Regions from separate parts of the Homo sapiens genome. Here regions 1, 3, 4 and 5 are each linked to region 2. The links are contacts of gene promoters, found by promoter capture Hi-C in blood cells and fetal thymus (Javierre and others, 2016). All regions are on one chromosome and are shown on one strand. The core of a region is centred on a gene start or on the middle of the fragment in contact, and the rest is flanking DNA. Distances in the headings are between cores, read along the strand shown. Region 1 overlaps LOC124901382 (a long non-coding RNA gene). Region 2 holds the start of LAMA4 (laminin subunit alpha 4). Region 3 overlaps HS3ST5 (heparan sulfate-glucosamine 3-sulfotransferase 5). Region 4 overlaps HDAC2 (histone deacetylase 2). Region 5 overlaps HDAC2 (histone deacetylase 2).

What was found. The method cuts DNA at HindIII sites, captures the fragments that hold promoters and counts their contacts. A CHiCAGO score of 5 or more calls a contact.
Region 1: a contact is called between a fragment that was not itself captured here and the fragment with the promoter of LAMA4 in region 2, in 8 of 17 cell types (total B cells, naive B cells, naive CD8 T cells and 5 more). The highest score is 14.5, in total B cells.
Region 3: a fragment that was not itself captured here is called in contact with the fragment with the promoter of LAMA4 in region 2 in 1 of 17 cell types (total B cells); the score reaches 5.5 in total B cells.
Region 4: a fragment that was not itself captured here is called in contact with the fragment with the promoter of LAMA4 in region 2 in 6 of 17 cell types (total B cells, naive B cells, non-activated CD4 T cells and 3 more); the score reaches 14.1 in total B cells.
Region 5: a contact is called between a fragment that was not itself captured here and the fragment with the promoter of LAMA4 in region 2, in 1 of 17 cell types (total B cells). The highest score is 5.0, in total B cells.

What each region holds. Positions count from the first base shown.
Region 1 is chr6:113,881,577-113,884,276 of GRCh38, forward strand. LOC124901382 (a long non-coding RNA gene) reads left to right here. Exons shown (of 3, transcript XR_007059716.1): 2 at 1-2,700. Among named protein-coding and RNA genes, the nearest start is that of MROCKI, 9.6 kb to the left of the region's middle. The HindIII fragment of the contact is 2,224 bases long and covers 210-2,433 here.
Region 2 is chr6:112,253,118-112,255,817 of GRCh38, forward strand. LAMA4 (laminin subunit alpha 4) reads right to left here and starts at 1,450. Exons shown (of 39, transcript NM_001105206.3): 1 at 1,342-1,450; 2 at 839-1,174. The coding sequence starts at 1,033. The region is part of intron 2 of LAMA4-AS1 (LAMA4 antisense RNA 1); the gene reads left to right. The HindIII fragment of the contact is 4,256 bases long and covers 1-2,324 here.
Region 3 is chr6:114,099,419-114,102,118 of GRCh38, forward strand. All of the region lies in intron 3 of HS3ST5 (heparan sulfate-glucosamine 3-sulfotransferase 5), which reads right to left. All of the region lies in intron 5 of HDAC2-AS2 (HDAC2 and HS3ST5 antisense RNA 2), which reads left to right. Among named protein-coding and RNA genes, the nearest start is that of HDAC2, 130 kb to the left of the region's middle. The HindIII fragment of the contact is 5,243 bases long and covers 1-2,700 here.
Region 4 is chr6:113,938,307-113,941,006 of GRCh38, forward strand. HDAC2 (histone deacetylase 2) reads right to left here. Exons shown (of 14, transcript NM_001527.4): 14 at 1-2,700. Among named protein-coding and RNA genes, the nearest start is that of HDAC2-AS2, 30 kb to the right of the region's middle. The HindIII fragment of the contact is 4,520 bases long and covers 1-2,700 here.
Region 5 is chr6:113,956,561-113,959,260 of GRCh38, forward strand. HDAC2 (histone deacetylase 2) reads right to left here. Exons shown (of 14, transcript NM_001527.4): 3 at 2,089-2,206; 4 at 59-133. Among named protein-coding and RNA genes, the nearest start is that of HDAC2-AS2, 12 kb to the right of the region's middle. The HindIII fragment of the contact is 288 bases long and covers 1,237-1,524 here.

The DNA of each region.
Region 1 (2,700 bases), core at 72-2,571, 1.6 Mb after region 2:
CTCTATGAAGGGATTGTGAAAGAGGAGAGAGATAATTAAGCATTTGGTTTGTACCAAGGAGGAAACACGTTTAATTTATAGCAGGAAAGGCTTAGTTTCAAGTTGGTAGACTTCCTGGCACATTGCGCTGTAAGATACTATTGAGCTGAAAATTGCAAAGAAAGGAGAACTTACTCAATGTCAGTCAAGATGGCATTAGTAAACTTGGAAGCTTCCCTGCATCTTTTTTGGATATGAAGTATAATGATTTGACATAAATATACTACTGCCTAAAACAAAAGAGCTGGATTCTACCACTATTAGAGTCACTTAACAGGGAGAATCACTTCACCCTGGGTCTCCTGATAGCAATTCAGTAACTAAGTTCCCTTGGTTGAGTTCCAAGACCAGTAATTCTTATAAGGAGGTTCACTCTAGAGCAAATAGTGTTTATGGTGATGTTTAAGCCTTACCCACATTCAATTTGAATTACAATGGAAAGTAAAAGTATTTGACATCTAATAATCCATTTACATTTGTTAGTGATCTCAATTTAAATCACCGTGCCTATGGCCTGACAGATGAGTTACTAGATTTTGATTTTCCTGAGGTTTATAATGTTTTAAAACTCATTAACATTTTAAATATTTACTATCTCATTTTATTACATAAAGCAGCACACAAACAAACTGAAAATTATTTCTAAACCAAATTTAATCCAGAACAGTTATTAAAACAATATATGTTAAAAAATGACATTTTAAAAAGCAAATGTGAAGAAGATACAGAGAAATACTGGAGTATCCATTGTCAGAATGATTTAATTTCAGTTCAAAGGGATTTGAAGATCAGTTAATTTGTCCATCCTTCGTCATGTTATACACAGGCTGCCTCTTTGCATGTTCCTTGAAGTTGTGCAGGACAGAGCCTGTGTGGCCTCGCCCAGTGCCCTGGTGATAGATGGGAAAATGGACTTAAATGCACTTGCCCCAGGCTTCTTAAAATGTTTGATTTCTTGTTGACTTCTTGGGTGCTTTCCAAACTCCACAGTGTTGAAATAAAAGTTGACCTGCTAAATCTAAATTCACATTCTATACCAGGACATGTTGTCTGGTTAAAATGAGAACCTTGGAGGATATTATATTAAGTGAAATAATCCAGGCATAGAGAGACAAATACTGCATGTTCTCACTCATTTATGGAAGGCAAAAAAGTTGACCTCATGGAAGTAGAGAGTAGAATAGTGGCTCCTAGAGGCTGGGAAAGTTGTGTGTGTTAGGGGTGGGGTGGTAGGGAGCTAGCCAGAGGTTGATTAGCAAATACTAAGTTACTGCTAGATAGGAGGAATAAATCTTAGTGTTCTATGGCACTATAGAATGACTATAACTAACAAAAATTTACTTTCAATTTTTGTGAATAATTTATATTCAAAACCTACAAGAGTGGATTTTGAATGCTCCCAACACAAAGAAATAAAGTTTTGAGGTGATGAATTTGCTATTTACCCTGATTCGATCCCTACACAGTGTGTAGGTGTGTCAAAATATCACATGGTACCCCATAAGTATGTACAATTATTATGTCAATTAAAAATAAAAGGAAATAATCACTAGTGAAGACAAAACTGATTTAAATCTTAAAAACTTTATGCTCTCCAAATATCTAAATGCTTTCAAAACAGAATTTCAAAATGCATCCAGAGGAAGGACATAGAATAGAGTAGAAAAAATAGTGCATAGCTGTTTGGATAGCAATAGCAGTAAACCTGTTTTTTTAAAAAATGAACAGTTCCCTTGAGGTAGAAAGTAGGTAGGAGCACGTGGAAGAAGCTCAGGCCTGGAGCCATTTGGTGGCATCAACCTCTGGTGATTTGAGAGCTGCTCTGCCACCTGCGGTGCTCTCAGCAGTTCCTGTCTCATTGTCTTAATTTTATGGGATCCTGGTTTAGGTAACCTCACAGAAGCAACGATTCTTTGAGGAATCTATAAAATGTAACTTAGAGAAGTCATTGAGCGATAGCTGAAGGAGACACTGGGGAAAATTGAGAATGTGAGCAACAGCAAGCAGAGGTAGCACTAAGATATTTATTTTTGCATTTGCGGAAATGCATCTAACTTATATGTTATGTAACTTGTATCCTTTGGACTTCAAAATGCATTGAAATATATGCAAATAGAAACTTTTAACCTCTTTTTCTTTTCTGTCCTGGTGAATTATTTGTACCATGGTCATTGTGATACAATTTCTGACATTTATCCACCATGAAGGGCAAGAAATATCATATACTTCTTTGGCATTCCTTACATGTACAGCATTATGATGGGGGTAGGACAGAGTTTTATTACATTTGTCTCATATTATTAAGGTAAAGGAAAGGGAGAGATGAATCCCTAGTTTTCTAGGTTCCTGTTTATTGTCCCAAATATACCATGTATGTGTTTTTTCATTTGTCAAAGCTTATCAATTGAGTGTGAAACTCTATTTTCATTCATAGTCCACAAAGACTTACTCTAAATTGCAACCTATTGCAGTGGAAAACAAACAAAGAAAAACAAAAACAGGCTGGCTGGCACTGAAAGTGCTGGCAGGCTGAAGCAGTAATCTGTTGGTAATTTTATAAGATTTCTTTGCTGATTACTATTTGGGCAGTGTCCACATCACTGATGAGTTCACACACTCACAGCTGTTCTAGGAGCAAGACAACATCTCCAAAAACAGACA
Region 2 (2,700 bases), core at 200-2,699:
TTTTGCTAGGTCAATTGCTCCTTCCTTTCCCATGAACTTAGGTGACTTTATTTTCCTCCCTCTTAGCATGTCCCATGCAATGGGCATGCTGTTGTCTGTTTCAGTTCAGGGGTTCTTAAATCACTTGTTCTGGATTCATTCTCCTTTACCAGACCTCTACATTCTGGTTTTGTTTCCAACTTAAAAGCTATTGTAAGGTATTCAAACAGCAGCTCTTTGAATAAACATATTATCAATAGCATATCCTGAGGCTTGATTTTAATGGAAACATCTTGTTTCTGGAATACAATGGCTCGTTTCTACTTAAGATACCCTCTCAGCAGTTGTCTAACAGCTCCTTTCATGACCAGCCACTCTCACTCACCCCCTCACCTTCCCTGCTGCAGAAGACTTCTTGTCTAATATGAGACAAAAAGATCCTGCAGTAGTGTTCCCACTGTCCTAACAGCACAGAGGAGCAGGAAGCCAGTGACAGGGCACACACGTTAAGTGCCGTGGCTTGACAAAATGACTACTGGGACACGCAAGTGGCAGAAGTCACCGATGTGCTGCTGCAGTCCCCGGTGAGAGTCTAGCGGATGAACTCAGAGCACCAACACATGCACTCTCACCCCTTTGAGCAGACACATTCCGAAGCCTCAACTTTCAACTCTCAACATCCAAATGCAACTTACAAAGGAAAACTCTTTATTTCAAGTTTCCGAACTGACCTAGCCCAGGTGAAACTCTCAAGGCACTGGGGAGAGGAAAGAGGCGGAGAGAGAGAGAAGGACGAGTGTGGCACAGCCCGCGGGGGCGCAGGTGCCCCAGCAGGGTGGCAATGGCAGGGACACTGTACCTCGGCCGCAGGCGGCAGGCGTCCCAGAGCCACGCGGGGTTCGCTCGTCTCAGGCGGGTCTTGCCTGCCAACCGCTGAGCTCCCTTCAATGTCAAAAGGAAAAGCGTTGTCGTCCCCGGACGCGGCGCGGGAGCAGGCAGCGCTCCAGAGGAGCCACAGAGGCAGAACCGAGCGCCAGGCTGAGCTCAAAGCCATTTCTCCGCTGACATCCAGTAGTGCTCTTCCAGGGCTCGGGCGCTGTGGGTCTCCGTAGGTCTCCCGCGTGGTGCGGCGGTGCCTCGCTTATTTTCCCTCCTCTCCGTGTGCAGTATCCCGAGGTGGCTGCGCAACCAGCAGCTTAGGAAATAAAGGGAAAGTGCGAGAGTAAGGGAGAGTTCCAGCCTCTCTCTCCCTCTCTCTCTCTCCCCTTCTCCCCCTCTCTCTCCCTCTCCCTCTCCCTCTTTCACTTTTTCTCCTTCCCGCAGAGGTTCTGGCTCAAGAACCTACAGATGGACGGAGCTTACAGTACGGCATCAAAAGGCAGACGGATTGGGGTGAGCCCCGCCAGCGCTAGGCCACCTCCTCTCCCTGGCCGTTCGGGACTGGGGACTGCGCTGTCCTGGCTTCCTTCTCACATTCATTCTCACCACTCCCTTTTTACCTTCTACTCCCAGGCCCTCCCACTCTAAGCTGGCTTTTCAGACACTGAGGTCCGCCTTTCCCTGCGGTCTTCCCTCCCCTCTCAGTTTGGAGCCCCTCCAAGGGCTCCAGAAGAATATTCAGCTTTTGTGACGCTTCCTCACCACTCTTATTTATGTAGTCAAGGTACCGGATGTCTTATCTATATTTACATAGATATTTTATGTGGCCCCCGCTAGTTTGCAGGAAAGTGGGTGGAAAAGGGATTCCAGGGCAGGAACCAAAGGTAGATGATCTCTGAAGGCAGAGGGTCAGGGTGCCCACTTTCTTGAGCAAGGTTTCTCGGGTTTTTTCTGGGGGATAGACTGTTGCACTCTTTGTGCTAATATCTTCTCTTCAGATTCACTGGCCACCCCTCTTCCTCCCTCCAGTCCTCACCCAGAGGGCTTGGGAGAAGAATATCTTTCACTGCAGCGCTGGAAAATGACTTCATTACCCAAATGCATGAACTTTTATTTACAAAGACCATCTTGTTTTCATCCTAAAGAGGTGCTTTGTAAGGGGCCCGGAACAAGGCTTGCAGTGTATGAGCCTGTCAAGTATACTGCCTACAGCCCCGGCCTCTTCCTCTTGGCCTGTAATCTCATGCCTACTACATCTGTCTGAATCATGTAACCTTTCCAAGACTTCAGGGTGAAGTTGGGCTACAGCTATGTCAGGGGTGCCCCTGTGGATGGGATAGTGTCTGCAACAGCTGATAGGTACCTTTGTTTACATTGGCTTCATAACGAGCTCTAAACATTTCCACAAGATCCAACCATGGTTTAAAAATGGTCAGATGAGACAACCATAAAATGACACCCAGGTAAGCTTCCAGGTGAAATAAAGCATTTTTGTATAACCTAATCATAAAATAAATAAATAAAGCCTTTCCATAAAACCTAATCATTAGCTCCATTTCATAGAACAAAAGTCATTTTATCTAAGTGTAAGCAAAACCATTTATTTTGCACCTAACATGTGCCAGATACTTGGCATATGCTATTTGTAAACCTCAGCATTCCTGCAAAGTAGTACCATTATTTTCCTTTTACAGAAGAAGAAAGTGAGGTTCAGAGAGACTAGGACATTTGCCCAAGGTCGCACAGCTGGTGGAAAGCAGAGATGGGGTTTGGATCCAGGCCTCACTGATTCCAAAGCTCTCTTTTACATCTGTATACACGACACTGCAACTTTAAAATAAA
Region 3 (2,700 bases), core at 46-2,545, 1.8 Mb after region 2:
CATAGTAATTCCTATTCCCTAAGGTCTATTTCAGATCATTGTTTTTCCTTTAATCTGGAGCACAAGGCACACAGATCATAAAATTTAGAGTACTGCAAAAGTCATTGAGTAATCAACAAAAAGTTAATCAATTTGCAAAGTGAAGTTTTCATCATGTGTCTGTACCTAAGGCCAATAAATCAAACTAAGTGGATTCAGCTCTCTAAGCTAGCATGGAGGGAAAGACCATATCCCTTATTAGTTTATTAGGATTTTCTCTAATCCCAGTAGTTGATTCCAAATAATCCACATATATTGCTAGGTGATGACCCCTCTCCTCTTCCACACTAATTTTCCATTCTAATAGCCTAATATTAGCGTCCATGCTTTATCCCAGCTGAATCAGGAGTGCAGCCTTACCTAGGCAGCTGAAATCCCCACAGATATGACCCAAAGCTGCATGATTATTATGACTCTTGGCCTTTTCATATATAGTTAGTCAATATTTACAAGCACTGCAGTCTATGAATAAGGTACAGCTCAGGGAATAACTCCTAAGAAATGGAAAAAAATGTGGCTAGTTTTCCTACAGTCTGAAGGAAAAGAAAGACCCCAACTTCATGGTTCATATTCTAATATGTTTTACCTTTTATCCTATATTGTGGTTCTCTCTGGATAGAATTTTCTAAAAATAAATTTATTCTTCTACAATGATTTATTCTAGGAGACATAGGATGACAATTCCTAGCTGAAGCCTACATGTGTGTTACGAACCATACACAAACAGACCAATGTGTAGATAGGTGGCATGAGCTCACACCCTTCCCCACATACATGTCTTTCATCAAGACAATCTTTATAGTCTCTGGGTCACGTTCTCCACGCAGAGATTGCAGACGATAGAGAGGCATCCTACCACACCTCGGTTAAAGAGAAAAATTTGATGTCTGGACATGTGTAGTCTTGTGGAAAGGAACCTTATTTCACTCATAGACGAGCAGTAGTATGGCTAGCAGTATTTCCCCAGAGATGGTCTGATTTAAAAAAAAAATCGATATCAACTCTTGACACATTTTCATTTACATCAGCACATGGCTTTCAGTCGGGGCACAAATCAATAGGCAGCTTTTAACACTGCCCAACTATTTCTTCCTATTGGGCTTGAGGCAGGCCATTTGCCGTTAACATACCATGTTTCTTGGGGGAGGAAGTTTAACTGTTTTTCCTGTGACTAATCACAACAGCCTAAACTGTAGCATTAATCACACGACATTTTCTTCATCACCACTTACAGCCAATTGACTTTTTACTTAGTGAAAGCATTTGAAGAAGGTGACAGTTGTTCTAAGGGGGTCAAGAGTCAATGGAAAGAAGAAATATTTAGTTCCAAAACATACACAGTATATGGCTTCAAAAGCTGACACTATGCCAGGCATCATTAGAAGGCTTATCACTCTATAGGTACGATCTCACAGTCAAGATGGAGGAGAAGATTTGTGTAAAATTAAAGTGCTAGCTAAGAGTCATAGCTTTTGGTTTGAAAACAATTAATCTGGGCCTTTCTATAAATTAAAAGTCACATCAAGGGTCACTAGTAATTGGCAAAGTGTTTTCTCTAACTTTTGGAAGTGAATTATTTTTCTGTCTTTTTTTCTAAAACTAGCAGGAAAGTTCAGTTAGGTCTGATGTCCTGTGAGGCTGGCAATCTGTGCAGTATTGGCAGTCTCGATTAAATGTAATATCTGGTTCATTGCTGCAGCAACTCAGATTTCTAAATAATGAATCAAATTCTTACATTATTCAAAAGCCACAAAAGGGTTATTAAGCCGAATAAGCAGATACTCACAAAGGTTTACAACATATTTATTTAGGGCAACTCCAAAGCACAAAAGTAACATGTTTTAAAAATATACAAAAAGACAACTTCCTATATGATATTGCATTATATCTATATTGTCCCAAACAGCAGTATCTTTTTAGAGTAGGACTCTCCTGGGATGTTATTCTCCTCACATGCTCCTAAAAAAGCACCACGTGGTTAAAAAATTTTGAAGAATGATGTAATTGAGGACAGAGTGCCCCTTTTGTTGATTTACAGTGCCTGTGGGTATATCAAAAGCTCCAAAAATATTTTCAATAAAGAAAACTGTGTATGATGCTAGTGAGGCTGCAGAGAAAAGGGAGTGCTTATATACTGCTGATGGGAATGTAAATCAGTTCTGCCATTGTGGAAAGTAGTTTGGCAATTTCTCAAACAACTTAAAACAGAATTATCATTTGACCCAGCAATCCCATTATTGGGTACATATCCAAAGGAATAGAAATTATTCTGCCATAAAGACACATGCACACGTGTGTTCATCACAGCAGTATTCACAATAGTAAAGGCATGGAATCAACCTAAATTCCCATCAACGGTAGACTGGGTAAAGAAAATGTGGTACATGTACACCATGGAATGCTATGCAGCTATAAAAAATAATGAGATCATGTCCTTTGTGGCAACATGGATGGACATGGAGGTCATTATCCTAAGCAAACCAACTCAGGAACAGAAAACCAAATACCACATGTTCTCACTTATAAGTAGTAGCTAAACATTGAGTGCACTTGGACACAAAGATGAGAACAAGAGACACTGGGGCCTACTTGAGGGTGAAGGATGGGAGAAGGGTGAGGATCTAAAAACTACCTATCAGGTACTATACTTAGTTATCTGGG
Region 4 (2,700 bases), core at 84-2,583, 1.7 Mb after region 2:
TACTATCTTTAGATATGAGCCTTTTGACCTGGATGAGTTACAAATCTGCCTCCCACTCTGTCTTTTGTCATTTTTCTTGACTTGTCTTCTAAGTTTTTGTTGGTCCACTGAACTAATTTTTTTTTTGTTATCAAATATATCTTTTATAGTTGAGTTTGGTGTCACACTTAGGCCTTCTTCAATCCATTTGCTTTAAGAGTTTAGGTTTTTGGTAGTTTTATCTTTTCCTATTTAAATCTTCTAGTGGAGGGCAGAAAACTGGGTTTTCCATTTGGTTACCAGTTGTTGTCCCAATTCCACTTACAAAATAATGTCTTTCCTTGCCAATTTCAAATATCATTTTTATCCTATATGAATTTTTTAAAGTATTAGGGTATTCTGACATCTTACTATGTTACATTGACCTTACTAGACACAAGAACCATAGCTTCTTTACATATTATTTCTAAAAATTTTGTTATTACAAATGGGGGTCTTTGTTCTTCCAACAGACTTGGTCACTAAGTGTTACTGATTTCTGTTTATTAATGCTGTACCAAATCACCTTGCTGAAATTGCTTTAGATAGTTCTCTTGAGGTTTTAGTTGTATATAACCAACTACTTAGAAAAACAAAACCTCTTAAATACACCCAAGGAGATCCAGTATAGTATTGAAGTGTACAATTTCAGTATGTTCACACAATGGAACATAATACATAGCAGTCAAAATGAACTATACTTAACATGTGTCAACAGGGGTAGATCAGAATATTAAATGAAAAAAAGCAAAGGGCCTTTGTCTCCTGGCACCCGGATACTGAGCTCAGTTTCCGTCTTCACTGTTCCATCTCCTCCATCCACTACTCCAGGATCTCATAGGTGACTCTACCACAGCCCCTGTTGTCCTGTGAGCTGCAGGCACTGGGAAATCCACAGGGAGGATGCCAGAACATCTGGAGCCTGCGAAATGGTATTTTCTTATTTAAAACAGGATCATCATGGTAGACGGGAGGCATGGTGGGAGGGGGGCGAGGGATAAAAGATTACAAATAGGGTGCAGTGTACACTGCTTGGGTGATGGGTCCACCAAAATCCCACAAATCACCACTAAAGAACTTAATCATGTAACCAAACACCACCTGTTCCCCAATAAGCTATGGAAAAATAAAAATAAAAAAAGCAAAGTTACAGAATTGTCCAAATACATACCATCTATGTTTCACAAACACTAAATACATTTCATTATCCCCCTAACGAAGGGACTAAGTTTCTTAGTTCCTAATGTCATAAAGGTTTACAGATTGATAACAAATATGTAGCAAAAGTACAAAAACATGGGTAAAATATTCACAAAAACATGGATAAAATAATCACAATGGTGATTACTTCTTAAGGCTGGGAGGGAGGGAGGATTACAAACGACAAAGTACACAAAGAGAGCTTCAATTTCGGTGTATTTTAAGAAAAAAACACCGAAGCAAATATAGCAAAAGTAAAATATTTGTTAAGTCGGGGTGGGTGCACAGCTGTTCATTACAAAAGTCTAGGTGCTATTGTGAATGTCTGAAACATTTAAGAGGCTTGTAGAGAAATATTTTTTCTTTTAATATTTTACTGCACTGAAGAGAAATACTTTTGACTGAATTATCTTCTGGCATTCTGTAATTTTTAATCTCAAAAGAATCAATGTGGGCCTGACAAAAAGGGAGATTTCACTGATTTTGGCAAGTTCCTAAAATGTTTTGTCTTCTTTGCACATCTTAGTAGCAGGAGTTACCCCCATTTGTCTGCTTCCTGCTACTAGAATGTAAGCTCTGAGTGTAAGCTCTGAGTGAAAGCATTTTTCCATTATATTCAGTTACACTCCTACAGTCTTAAAATGGGCAGACACACAATAAGTAGTTGCTGAATGATAAATCAGTTGTGTTTATTTCCTTGAGTTAGAAACCTGGATGTCACGTAAATAATAATGGAACCTGGATGCCATGTAAATGCAGTAAAAGAAACAGGTTTTGTCTGCAGGTTCCATTTTAAACCAGCAATATACTATAGGCAAGTCTGGTCAATACAAGTTCTGGTCAGTTTCTTCTTTCAATTCAGAATTTCCATTTCAATTTTGAGAATCTTTGGGTCAACTCAAAGAACTCCTACATCTCAATTGCAGAGTCTGTATTATTTCATAAATTGTAATGGGATGTTAATCTTCACTGATACTAACTGGCTAAGCTATAGAGGGCAAGGTGGTAGAATTTCTATTGCAAAGATAAGTAATAATTACTATAAATACTCTTCCCAAAGAAACAGCAAATAGTTATCTTTCAAGCTGTAATCATTATCTTTCACCTAGAGTGTATTGTAAGTCTACAGAAATGATGTCATTAGCCACTGAAACAAGACTTCATATTGTAGTAATAAACAGACAAAAGATAATCCAAGTACAATTTTTTAATAAAGATAATTACAAAAGATGGAAAAATCAGCTCAGAAAGGCCAATTACTTCTTTAATAGATCAGTTTTTTTGACATAATAACTCACATCAATTTTAAATACTATCACATAAAGCATGGTGGAGAAAAGAAATTTTGCTTCATAATTAGAAAAACTCACAATAAAACTTGCCAAGAAAAACAAAAACGAAAAAGCCATTTGAAAATAAATACAGTCCATGCCAAAGTAGTATAAAATGAAGCCAGAAGTCTTCAAAAAGAAAACATTTTCC
Region 5 (2,700 bases), core at 131-2,630, 1.7 Mb after region 2:
CGAAAGATAACACACCAAGTTCAGATCAACTTTTAAATCTGATTGCATTAGCACTTACCAACTGAACCGCCAGTTGAGAGCTGACAAAACTCAAAGAGTCCATCAAACACTGGACAATCTTCTCCAACATTAACTGTGGAAGATGGATTTCATTAATTTCAACACATTCTGCAAATTAATGAAAGCCTTTTCTTACAAAAACTATTTCCCACAAATACTTTTTTGCTTGATGCAATCATCAAACATACACTTCACAGTATAATATAAAGTTTCCAACTTTAAAATATATTTATTGTTTTATCCAAGGTAATTAAAGTGTTATCTGTGAAAGATCATCAAATCTTATCAGGATTATCTGTGGAATATTTCTGTCTATTAACAAGAACTCAATAGTTGTCTAAGTACAACAATTCTTATTTAATTAAAACACAGGCTTAAATTTTCTAGGCCTTTCCCCTTAATATTACAATAAGTTAACATTCTAAAAGCAACTTCAATTGCTTTATAATTTACTTTCTTTGAAACTCCTTAAATACCTATAATATCTGTAACTTTGAAATGCATGTCAGTAAGTTACTAAACCAAAAAGATGTAACAGCTGGTTGCCTATTCCCATGGCTAATCTTGATCTTGAAAGTTGCTAAGAATTAACTAGGTTCATGGGAGCCAAAACATAGGATACTAAAGACAACAAGGAAAACATTTACAGATAAACGATCACACATTTAGTTCCTTAGCACTGAGAGAATGAAAGGATATGGCAGATGTATGTAACCCTTTCTTAGTCTTTCCCTATGCCCTTGAATTGTAACCTCTTCAAGAATAAGGGTCCTTGTTTTGTATATTAATATCTTTGTATACCCTTAAGTCACAAGCACTATAAGAAATGAATTTTAGTTTCTTACTGCACAGAGAGATCATAATCTTTTTTTTTTTTTGGAGACAGAGTCTCACTCTGTCGCCCAGGCTGGAGTGCAATGGCGTGAGCTTGGCTCACTGCAACCTCCACCTCTGGGGCTCAAGCAAGCAATTCTCCTGTCTCAGCCTACAGAGTAGTGGGATTACAGGCGCGCACCACCACACCCAGCTAATTTTCTGTACTTTTTTAATAGAGACAGGGTTTTGCCATGTTGGCCAGGCTGGTTTCGAACTCCTGACCTCAGGTAATCCACTCACCTCCGCCTCCCAAAGTGCTGGGATTACAGGCGTGAGCCACCACACCTGGCCAGGATCATAAGCTTAATAGAACTCATTATTATGTGGGTTTTAAATCAATCCTGTTATGTTGTTTGCCCAAGGGCTACTCATGCCTCTTTTGCATCTAAGTTGGAATCTTCATTGAAAAAAAAAAAATTAAATACTACATGTTCTAGTTACATTGTAGCATTATAACAAATCAAACAAGATATGGCAGAAATGTGTATGAGGTTGTAAATATGAGATGTCTAGCACCTACACTAATTTAGTATAATCATCACTGAAGTCAGTCAATACAAACACTAATGAGAATGAACTTTGGTATCAAGCTTTAAAAGATACTGTTCCAATAATTTTAGGTTGACTTTTGCATTCTACCTTCAAGCCAATTTGTTACTAATCTCTAAAAATAAAATACTTTTAACCTGTACAAGAGAACATTACGTAGAATCAAAAGCTTCACTAATATCTTAACAAAGAAAAAGAGATGTGTATTATAGTCCAGGTTAACTGAAGTACACAAAGACAAGACAAGAGATATGTACATGCCAAGCTAAGGCTAATCAAAGTGTAATCTTGTTTTTGTTTTTTTGAAGCGAGGGAGTAAGGGAGTGAGGTCTCCCTACCAATATGTATTAACCCAAAGTTATCAGGGGAGCAAACTAGGAGTAGAAGAATACCCAAACAGCAGTTTTGCAAACCAATAAGCTTCAGATAGGTTTACTTTTTTCTTAAGTAGCTTTAGTAGTGTTAAAATGACTTTTCAAATCAGTAAATAACTGTAACATATTAGACCAACAGGAAAAATATTCAGATTTAGATCATTCTAAGCTCCTAAAAATACTAATTTACATTTATCAAAGCAAAACTACTTTTTACTTAGAAACGTACATCTCTGCATCTGCTTACTATACTCAGACATGTTATCTGGTCTTATTGACCGTAGAAATTTGATATACTCATCACTGTGATATTTTGTCATTTCTTCGGCAGTGGCTTTATGGGGCCTCTGTGAAGAGAAATAAATGTCAGAACTGTGGAATTACAACCGGTTATATCAGTATTATCAAACAAATATACAAATTCCCCTATCGGTCCCCTCAAAAGAACCAAGTCTACCAGAACAAAATATATAAATTCCAAAACTAACCCAAACTTATATGTGTTTTAGAAAACAGTAATCAATCTCAAAACTAATTCAAACTCCTTTAAAAGCATTACACAGGCATATCAACTATGATTTAATCACTCCTTATTTTAGTGGAAACAGTTCGAGTAAAAAGTCAAATCCATATGTTCATAAACTCTACTTTCTCTCCTTTTCCATGATAAAACATCCAGTGATTTCATCAATGAAATCACTCACTACAAGAGTTTTCAATTCTAAATCTTTGTTCACGACCTCTCGTCCTTTTTTCTATCCTAATCTTCCTTGTTCCGAAGAGCTCAATTTCACGTATGACACAATTCTTCCACAAGACTTCCAGACTGAGTCTTATTCTA